Linked DNA regions of Homo sapiens: regions 2 and 3 are each linked to region 1. The links are contacts of gene promoters, found by promoter capture Hi-C in blood cells and fetal thymus (Javierre and others, 2016). All regions are on one chromosome and are shown on one strand. The core of a region is centred on a gene start or on the middle of the fragment in contact, and the rest is flanking DNA. Distances in the headings are between cores, read along the strand shown.

Evidence for each region. The method cuts DNA at HindIII sites, captures the fragments that hold promoters and counts their contacts. A CHiCAGO score of 5 or more calls a contact.
Region 2: a fragment that was not itself captured here is called in contact with the fragment with the promoter of SHF in region 1 in 1 of 17 cell types (M2 macrophages); the score reaches 6.2 in M2 macrophages.
Region 3: a fragment that was not itself captured here is called in contact with the fragment with the promoter of SHF in region 1 in 16 of 17 cell types (naive CD8 T cells, monocytes, naive CD4 T cells and 13 more); the score reaches 18.0 in naive CD8 T cells.

What each region holds. Positions count from the first base shown.
Region 1 is chr15:45,186,575-45,189,556 of GRCh38, reverse strand. SHF (Src homology 2 domain containing F) reads left to right here and starts at 1,591. Exons shown (of 7, transcript NM_001394037.1): 1 at 1,591-2,103. The coding sequence starts at 1,606. It overlaps LOC124903481 (a long non-coding RNA gene), which reads right to left. Exons shown (of 2, transcript XR_007064608.1): 2 at 739-1,442. RefSeq lists a silencer at 1,647-1,696 and an enhancer at 2,611-2,982. The HindIII fragment of the contact is 22,026 bases long and covers 1-2,982 here.
Region 2 is chr15:45,417,144-45,420,125 of GRCh38, reverse strand. It overlaps AFG2B (AAA ATPase AFG2B), which reads right to left. Exons shown (of 8, transcript NM_024063.3): 6 at 2,727-2,857; 7 at 1,444-1,569. Among named protein-coding and RNA genes, the nearest start is that of COXFA4L3, 12 kb to the left of the region's middle. The HindIII fragment of the contact is 9,891 bases long and covers 1-2,982 here.
Region 3 is chr15:45,398,012-45,400,993 of GRCh38, reverse strand. It overlaps a transcript of GATM not described here. Among named protein-coding and RNA genes, the nearest start is that of AFG2B, 2.8 kb to the left of the region's middle. The HindIII fragment of the contact is 2,722 bases long and covers 134-2,855 here.

The sequences.
Region 1 (2,982 bases), core at 342-2,841:
ATTAACCAGGTGTGGTGGCGCACGCTTGTAATCCCAGCTACTAGGGAGGCTGAGCTGGGAGCATTGCTTGAACCCGGGAGGTGGAGGTTGCTGTAAGCTGAAATCGTGCCACTGTACTCCAGCGACGGAGTGAGACTCCGTCTCAAAAAAAAAAAAAAAAAAAAAAAGGCAGACATGAACCTAGGAGTGCGGAGACACTGAGGCAGTGGGGGAAAGGGGGTGGGGTAAAGTGAGGTGAGACAGCTGCTTTCCCAGCAGAGCCAAGAGCAAATGTGTTGGTGTTGGCTTCAGGCCTACATTTATGGTGAGGAACTGGCTTTATTTCTTTCCTTTTCTTTTTTCTTTTTCTTTTTTTTTTTTTTTTGAGACGGAGTCTCACTCTGTCGCCCTGGCTGGAGTGCAGTCGCGCAATCTCAGCTCAATGCAACCTCTGCCTCCTGGGTTCAAGCGATTCTCCTGCCTCAGCCTCCCGAGTAGCTGGGACTACAGGTGCCCGCCACCACACCCGACTAATTTTTTTGTATTTTTGGTAGAGACGGGGTTTCACCGTGTTAGCCAGGATGGTCTCGATCTCCTGACCTCGTGATCCTCCCGTTTCGGCCTCCCAAAGTGCTGGGATTACAGGCGTGAGCCACCGCGCCCAGCCGGAACTGGCTTTATTTCTAAGACAAAAATGCCTAGCACTTGAGCATCTGAGCCTCAAGAGGATAAGGAGTTTGTGATAGACAACACTGGGACTGTTTCTAGACTTGATTTATTGACTTGTCTGTTTCCATTCTGTTACTAATCTGATTGACAATGAAGCCCGGGATGTGGCTGGAAGGGATTTCTGCGTGCGTGCGCATGCTATCGTCAGGGCCATGTGGGCCCGTTTGGAGCAGGTGCTCCCGTGGGTGGGGGATGTTTGAGCGAGGGCTGTTTGCGTGTGAGAAGGGCGTGTGTGAAAACGACACGGGAGAAGTGGGCGTCTCTAGGGAGTTGTTTGTATGTGATGTGAGATGTGTTTGCCTGGATCGGGAAGTAACGTAGGTTCGGGTATGTGCAGTGCGTACGGTTGGATGGGAGGAGGTTGTGGGGCTCCCAAGGTAGCACGGGAGGAGGAGGCTTACAGACACATCTTACAGAACCTAGCCCCTTTTCTTGCCCGCCTAGATTTTCCTCCTAGATTATAGTTTCCCAGTTGCGAGATCCTGGGAGAGGGAAGAGGAGAGGCGTAAGGCTCCCTAGAGTCAGGAGTCTGGGGGCTCCCCTCTTTGCGTCTCGCACGAGCTGGGAGCTGGGGAAAAGAACAGATGGGGATGGATGCGCTCCCCACAGGGGACCGCGTGGCGACACGTAAAGGATTCAACCTCAGTCCAGTAGTCGCATCCTCTGCCCCAGGGCTGCCCACTTCACTTCTTGCCTGTGCATACCGGCTGGAAGCCCGCGTACACTCTTCCGAGCTACGGGAGGAGGAAGACCCTGTTAGGGAGCGGAGCCCCGCCTCTCCCTTGTTACTGAAGCGCCCCGCCCCCTCCCCGCCCGGCGGAGCCCCGCCCCCCTCCCCACCCCCGCCCCCGCCCCCCACCCGCCGCTGCGCTCCCCTCGCTCAGTCTGGCTGGCCCCATGTTACTGAGCGGAGCTCCTCCGGCTGGCTCCCGCCCGGGGCCGCGAACGCAGGGGAGCGCTGGGGGCGGCCCGGGGGGGTCCCGCCGGGGCGCCGGGGGTGCGGGAGCCGGCCCAGGAGGGGGCGGCAGCGGCGGAGTAGCCAAGTGGCTCCGGGAGCACCTGGGCTTCCGCGGGGGGGGCGGCGGCGGAGGGGGCAGCAAGCCGGCGCCCCCCGAGCCCGACTACCGCCCCCCTGCGCCCTCTCCGGCCGCGCCCCCCGCGCCGCCCCCGGACATCCTGGCCGCCTACAGGCTGCAGCGGGAGCGCGACTTCGAAGACCCCTACTCCGGGGGGTCGTCCGGCTCCGCCGCCCTCGCCACCCCTGTCGCCCCCGGACCCACGCCGCCCCCGCGCCACGGCTCTCCCCCACACCGCCTTATTCGGGTCGAGACCCCGGGGCCCCCGGCGCCGCCTGCTGATGAGCGGATCTCCGGACCCCCCGCCAGCAGCGATAGGGTGAGTGCCGCGCCGGGCCGGGATGGCCAGGAGGGAAGGCGGTCAGGGGTCTGGAGGCTGCGAGAGGGACAAAGGTGGCCTGGCCCGGGCCCCTCGGTGTCTCAGCTTCTGGCAGACGCGAGCCCCTGACCCCGGGGTTCCGAGCCTTCACCCACCTTTGTTCAGATTCTCAACCGACTAATCTGAGACGGAAGCCCCAAACTCTGCCCCTCTGCCCTATCCTTTGTAATGGCCCCAGAACTGGTGACCCTCCCCCTCCCGGGCTGGCTCTCCACTTCGTAGCCCCCTCTAGCCTGATCCATGAGCCTTTTGCTAACGGGAATTGAGGCGCACCTCCCAACCCCCACTGGTTGATGGCCTTTCTGCCCCTCTGGAAGCAGCGGCTCAGTGCCCTTTGATCTCTGACCCTTCCCCCTGGGCATAGCCAGCACAAAGCTCTTCCCTCCTGTTGCCTCTTTGCTTCCTCCTCCTCTTCCTCCTCCTGTTTCTCCAGCCTAAGCATCCTTGCAGGTGCTGAAGCCCCAGAAAGGAGGTGAAGACGGGTTTCTCCTTGCGGACACAGCACGAGCTGGCCTTTGCCCTATAGGCTGTTGTTCTCAGGAGGCGAAGACAGGCAGCTTACAGCTCTTGCCAAGGGGGCTTCGTGGGGTCCAGGCCCACTCCTCCCTCCTTCCCTCGTCCTCTCAGGTATGAGGATAGTCAGTGCTCAGGACCTGTTGCCCACATGGGGCTAAGCAGCTGAGCCCATTCCTCCTCTCCTCCTGGCCTCCCTCTCCCCCTGGTCCATTCTGAGGGAGGCTGGAGCTTTTCCTGGGTCTGCAGGCACCAGGATAGGGAGGAGAACAGGAAATCCACCATGCCTCAGGGCCCTGCCCTGAT
Region 2 (2,982 bases), core at 222-2,721, 230 kb before region 1:
CAGAAAATAACATATGCCACATGCTTCCATTCATATAAAGTTCAAAAGCAGACAAAACTAATCCCCACTGTTGTTAGTCAGGAGAGTGGTTCCCTTTTGTTTTGTTTTTTGTTTTTTTTTTTTTTTTTGGGGGGGGGGGACAGAGTCTTGCTCTGTCACCCAGGCAGAAGTACAGTGACACAATCATGGCTCACTACAGCCTTGACCTCCAGGCTCAAGTGATCCTCCCACCTCAGCCTCCTGAGTAGCTGGGACAATTTTTTAAAAGTTTTTGTAGAGACAGGGTCTCCCCATGTTGCCCAGGTTGGTCTCAACTCCTGGGCTCAGATGATCCTCCTGCCTTGGCCCCAACAAAATGCTGGGATTACAGGCATGAGTCACTAAGCCCAGCCAATAGTTCTCTTTTGGAAGAAGGTAGGTGACAGAGGTTGGGAAAGGGCCCAAAGGAAGATTCTGGGGTGTTTATAATGTTCTATTTCTTGACATAAGTAGTGATTATAAAAATGTGATCACTTTAATTCAATGAACTGTACCCTTATGATCCGTGCATTTTTCTGAATGTTATATTTAGTAAAAGTTTACGAAAAAGGGTATCTTAGAGTGGTTTACAAGGACCCGTGTGTCCTGGCCATTGTCTACTCCTTCAGCTTTTTTTTTTTCCTAAGAGACAGAGTCTCACTCTGTCACCCAGGCTGGAGTGCAGCGGCACGATCTCATCTTACTGCAACCTTCGCTTCCCAGGCTCAAGCAATCCTCCCATCTCCCCCTCCCAAGTAGCTGGGACTACTAGTCCCCCACGTAGCTGGGACTAACACCACATTTGACTAATTTTTTATTTTTTCTAGAGATGGGGTCTCACTGTATTACCCAGGCTGATCTTAAACTCCTGGGCTAAAGCAATCCTCTCGCCTTGGCCTCCCAAAATGCTGGGATCACAGGCACGAGCCACCACGCCTAGCCCACTTCTTTCGCTTTATTTCTTGCCATTCTCCACTCTAAGATTCAATAATGTCACACCATCTCTTATCTTCAATCCTTTGCACATTTTATTCTCTCCACCTCAAACATTCCCCCTTCCCTTCTTAGCTGGCTAACTCCCGATTTGTCCTTCCAATTTCAGTTTATACATCTCCTTTCTCAGAAAGCCTTCTCTGATGTGCCAAATCTGGGCTGGTGTCTTTCCTAGGTGCTCCCACAGTACCCTCTACTTCCGCAACTCACTACATATTTTCAATTGCCAACTCAGTATTAAGATTTGCCTCTCTGCACCACCCTCCTCACCACCCCACACTTACAATAAGCTGTGTGAGGGATGGGGCCACATCTGTCTGTTTCACATCACATGGTACCACACAGGCTTTTAGTAAATACTGCTGAGTGAATGAAGATTTGAAAAGATGCAGAAATGTTTTGAACCACAAATTTCTTCAATAATTAACTTACTTCTGTGCAGAGGTTTCTAAGATCAGCTCCAGAAAAAAAACAGGTTTCTGCTGCGAGGTTTTCTAAGGAGACATCAGGCCCTATTGGCATGGTTTTTGTACAGACTTTTAAAATAGAAAGCCTGCCCTGGAACAAAATAAAAAACAGTATTTTAAATCTTATAACATTTATGTTTGACACAATGATTTATTAAAATATTTTTAGCTTGAGTTTCCTTTCACATTACCGAGAAAATATATATAGGGGTTAGAAAGACTAAGTCATCAATGGCTTATATGACAATGGTAAAAATAACGACATCATAAAAAACTTATGAATCTTTTTTTTTTTTTTTTTTTTGAGATGGAGTCTCGCTCTGTCACCCAGGCTGGAGTACACTGGCACGATCTTGGCTCACTACAACCTCCACCTCCCGGGTTCAAGTGATTCTCCTGTCTCAGCCTCCCAAGTAGCTGGGATTACAGGCGCCTGCCACCACATCCAGCTAATTTTTGTATTTTTAGTAGAGATGGGGTTTCACCATGTTGGCCAGGCTAGTCTCGAACTCCTGACCTCTGGTGATCTACCCGCCTTGGCCTCCCAAAGTGCTGGGATTACAGATGTGAGCCACCACGCCCGGCTAAATCTCTCTCTTGGGTACAAATAATACTATCAGACATGGCTTAAGAAGCAAATACATGAATTATCAGATACAACTTAAAGGTATAATAGATATTAAATTTTATTTTTCTATCCCTTCAAAACTTGATAAAAGCCCAAGGAACAAAAAAATTCACTCTGTGCCTTTCACCCTCCCTGTCAGTGGCTCTGGATGTTAACGACAAAAAATGTACTGGTTGACCATGATACACTGCATAATCTCTGTAATCTCAGATTTCTGCACCGTACTTTACGGACAACAAATTTACTGGTTGACCACGATACACTGCATAATCTCTGTAATTTCAGACTTCTGCACTGTATGATAAGGATGCTGACTCAATCTTCAAAGCCCTTTTAACACTTTAGGATTCCTCCACTCTAGTTGCAAAATAACGCTGAGTAGACTCAGTATTTAGAGTCTGCCACAACACAAAAAATAACCACCATATATTTAGGCTTATGTTTCTCTGTGAACAAGATCAGAGTATCCAACAAAGGAAGATCAAAATTATGATGTCATGAAAGGCCACCAGGCAAGGAAGAAGGCGGAACCCAGGGTAAGTAGAACACCATGGACACCTATATCCAAGTTGGAATTCAATTCTGCTGAGCTCACACAGAGTAAATGTGTAAATGACTACCTTGTGATCTGGAGGTGGGATATAGATGATCTTATCTAATCTTCCAGGTCGTAACAAAGCAGTATCTAACACATCAGGTCTATTTGTTGCTGCAATAATCATGACACTTCGGTTAAAAACTTCTTGAAACTCTGAGGGCAAACACACAACACAAAGTAATGTCAATCAGTTGTTAATAAGTTTTCTAAAAATTATAAATCAGAAGGTCTATTTAAATTCAAATAGGGATATCCTTTTCTTGGGACCAGAATGCTTA
Region 3 (2,982 bases), core at 245-2,744, 210 kb before region 1:
CTTTGCATTTTTTGAAATAAAAAAAAAGCCATCGTTTTTACCGACCCCTAAAGGTGTGAATTACATGCCTATCAAGTTATTTTATCAGAAGCCTGTACCTCATCGAGTTCCTTCTATTCAGCTCCAAGAAGCTTTAAGGATCTGGGAGAGGGAAAGAAGACTTACTGAGGACAGGATAACTGTCTTAAATATGTAAAGGGATCTCATGTAAAAGAGTTAGTAGATTTACTTATATTTACAGTGCAGAAATGGCCAAGAAGTAAAGGTTTAATGGAGTGGAATAACCAAAGCCAAAACAGGGAGCCAATAAAGTTAAATCGGCCTCAAAATTTTCTGAATTGGTTTAAAACAGAGGCACAAACTATGCTATTAGGAATATGATGAGAAGGAAACTACATGTTGCTTTTGGTTGGTCTAAGAGGTTGATTTTATACAAGGTCAAACAAGAACCCTCTGACCTTATAGAATCCATATGCACAGGAAATATTATTTCACTTCACTCTTTCTCTAAAAGATCCAGTCTTTACCATAGGTTGCAAACAAAAGCAACAAGGAATTCTGTTACTGGGCCTTCAGCTCTTATCCACTCACTCTGAGCAAAACTATAAATGTCTTTCCCAATCATCCAGTAAAATCCATTCTGTCCCTTTAGGTCTAACCATTTGCAACACTATGATTTCAGCCATCTGAACATCCATATTTATCATGCCATTCAATGACATAATCTCCTTGTGATAAACCATTCTTTTTATTTTTAAAATTTTATTTATTTTTTAGACAGTCTTGCTCTGTCACCCAGTCTTGAGTGCAATGGCAGGATCTCAGCTCACTGCAACATCTGTTTCCCAAGTTCAAGCAATTCTCCTGCCTCAGGCTCCCAAGTAGCTGGGATTACAGGTGCCTACCACCACGCCTGGCTAACTTTTGGATTTTTAGTAGAGATAGGGTTTTACCCTGTTGGCCAGGCTGGTCTCGAACTCCAGGCCTCAAGTGATCCACCTGCCTCAGCCTCCCAAAGTGCTGAGATTACAGGCATGAGCCACTGCACCTGGCCTCCTTGTGGTAAACCATTCTAATGGGAGTTGTGTGGCTCTTTTGCTTAGTTGTTTTTAATCTGACCAGAAATTTGTTAATTCTATGAATTGAAGAACATCAATTAAAGCACTAGAATTGAACCACTAGAGGGAGTCCAGAACCAACTAAGCCTGAAGGCTACAGGATTGTTAGGACGTTGGTGTTCTCAACTGTGGTTTCCACTCAATTTTCCCAGGATTCACACCTAGGTGTATGAAGCCATCTGTTGTCTCTATATATTATCTGGCTTAGTCTGTTCAGGCTGCTGTAACAAAATACTACGAACGAGGTAGCTTATAAATGACAGCAATTTATTTTTTACAGTTCTGGAGGCTGGGAAGTCAAAGACAAGGCACTGGCAGATTCCATGACTGGTAAGGGCCCCCTGTCTAGAGACAGCTCATTGTACCTGCACATGGTGGAAGGGACTAGCTAGCTCCCTCATGTTTCTTTTATAAGCACACTAATCCCATTCATGAGGGCTCCACTCTCGTGACCTAATCACCTCCCAAAAGGCCCTGACTCCTACTACCATCATCTCAAGGGTTAAAATTTCAACAAATGAATTTTGTGGAGGACACAAACACTGAGACCCTAGCAGTAACTGACTTATTTTCACATAATTTTTCACAAGCCTCAAGCTGTGTAAAACTCAGTTTCTAAGTTAAAATTTAATTTTTGTGTTAAGTATAAAAATGAGACTGTTCCTAAATCCAAAATTTAGTGGTAGGTCAAAATCCAAACCGATGGAATTCATCTTGCTATAGCCTAGAAACATTTCTAGCTTTAAATTGTTTCAAATAGCTTTGCCAAACAAAATCTTTTGTGAGATTTTCCCGAAAAGGTACATGTGACAAATGGTTTCTCTTTATGTCCTTTGTTACATTCAAGGTTACAATCTGTCTAATTTTTAATTAACTATAAAAATTCTTAATTAACTGTAAGTCTATAATTCAAAAGAAATAATTGGAATCTGTTTCTTTAGGATAATGATCATGCAATATTTTTGTCCCTTCAGCATATTATATATGTATATAAAAATATATTCCTGTATATGAAAAAAATCTAAAGAAAATGGTTAAACCAGTAGCATGAGTCATCTGTAGATTAAATAATGTTAATCTTTCCAGCATTTCCATTTTTGTGTTATGTTCAACCCTAATATATTTGAACATTAGCAATGACTATGAGTTGTAATAGATGAATAGAGATTTGTTTAGCCACCCTTGAAAAAGCATGATTTGCAAACACTTTCATCTCAACATGCTCATGTAGATGTAGTAAGTGACTTATTTCCACGGATAGCTAATATGCCGAACCTGTGTTCATAAAGTATGTAATGAAAATCCCCCTAAATGGGACATTGTTAAAATTGTTCTTTAGAATCTTCCATCTTTACTTTTTATCTTGTATCCAGGTTAGAATTAGTCTTTAGAGTAATTCTAGATATAGAATAAGTTATAGAATCAGAAGAAGGAGGATGAAAATATTTGCTGGATTTCAAATGACCTGCAGACTACAGTTCATAGAACATCATTCTGAAAGTCTGTTCTTGCACATTTTCAGGAAATTGCTTGATTCATCATTTTTTAGAAGTTAATGTTAAGGTAATTTTTCCCTATGATGTTGGTTCACACTTTTCAACAAACATAATAATTATATATTTATTAAAACAAATATTTATTGAACATCTACTTCTTGCTAGTTACTATACCAGAGGCTGAGTATTTGGTGGCAAACAACAACAATAAAAACACTGTAATCCTTGCCTTCATGAAGCTTATAGTCTACTGGGAAGTCAAACATTGAAGAAGTAAACAAGTGAATAAATCTGATAATTAAAGGTGATGAAAATTGCTTTGAAAGAAATAAACGGAAAAGGGCTACTTTAAACAGGTATTAAGGATA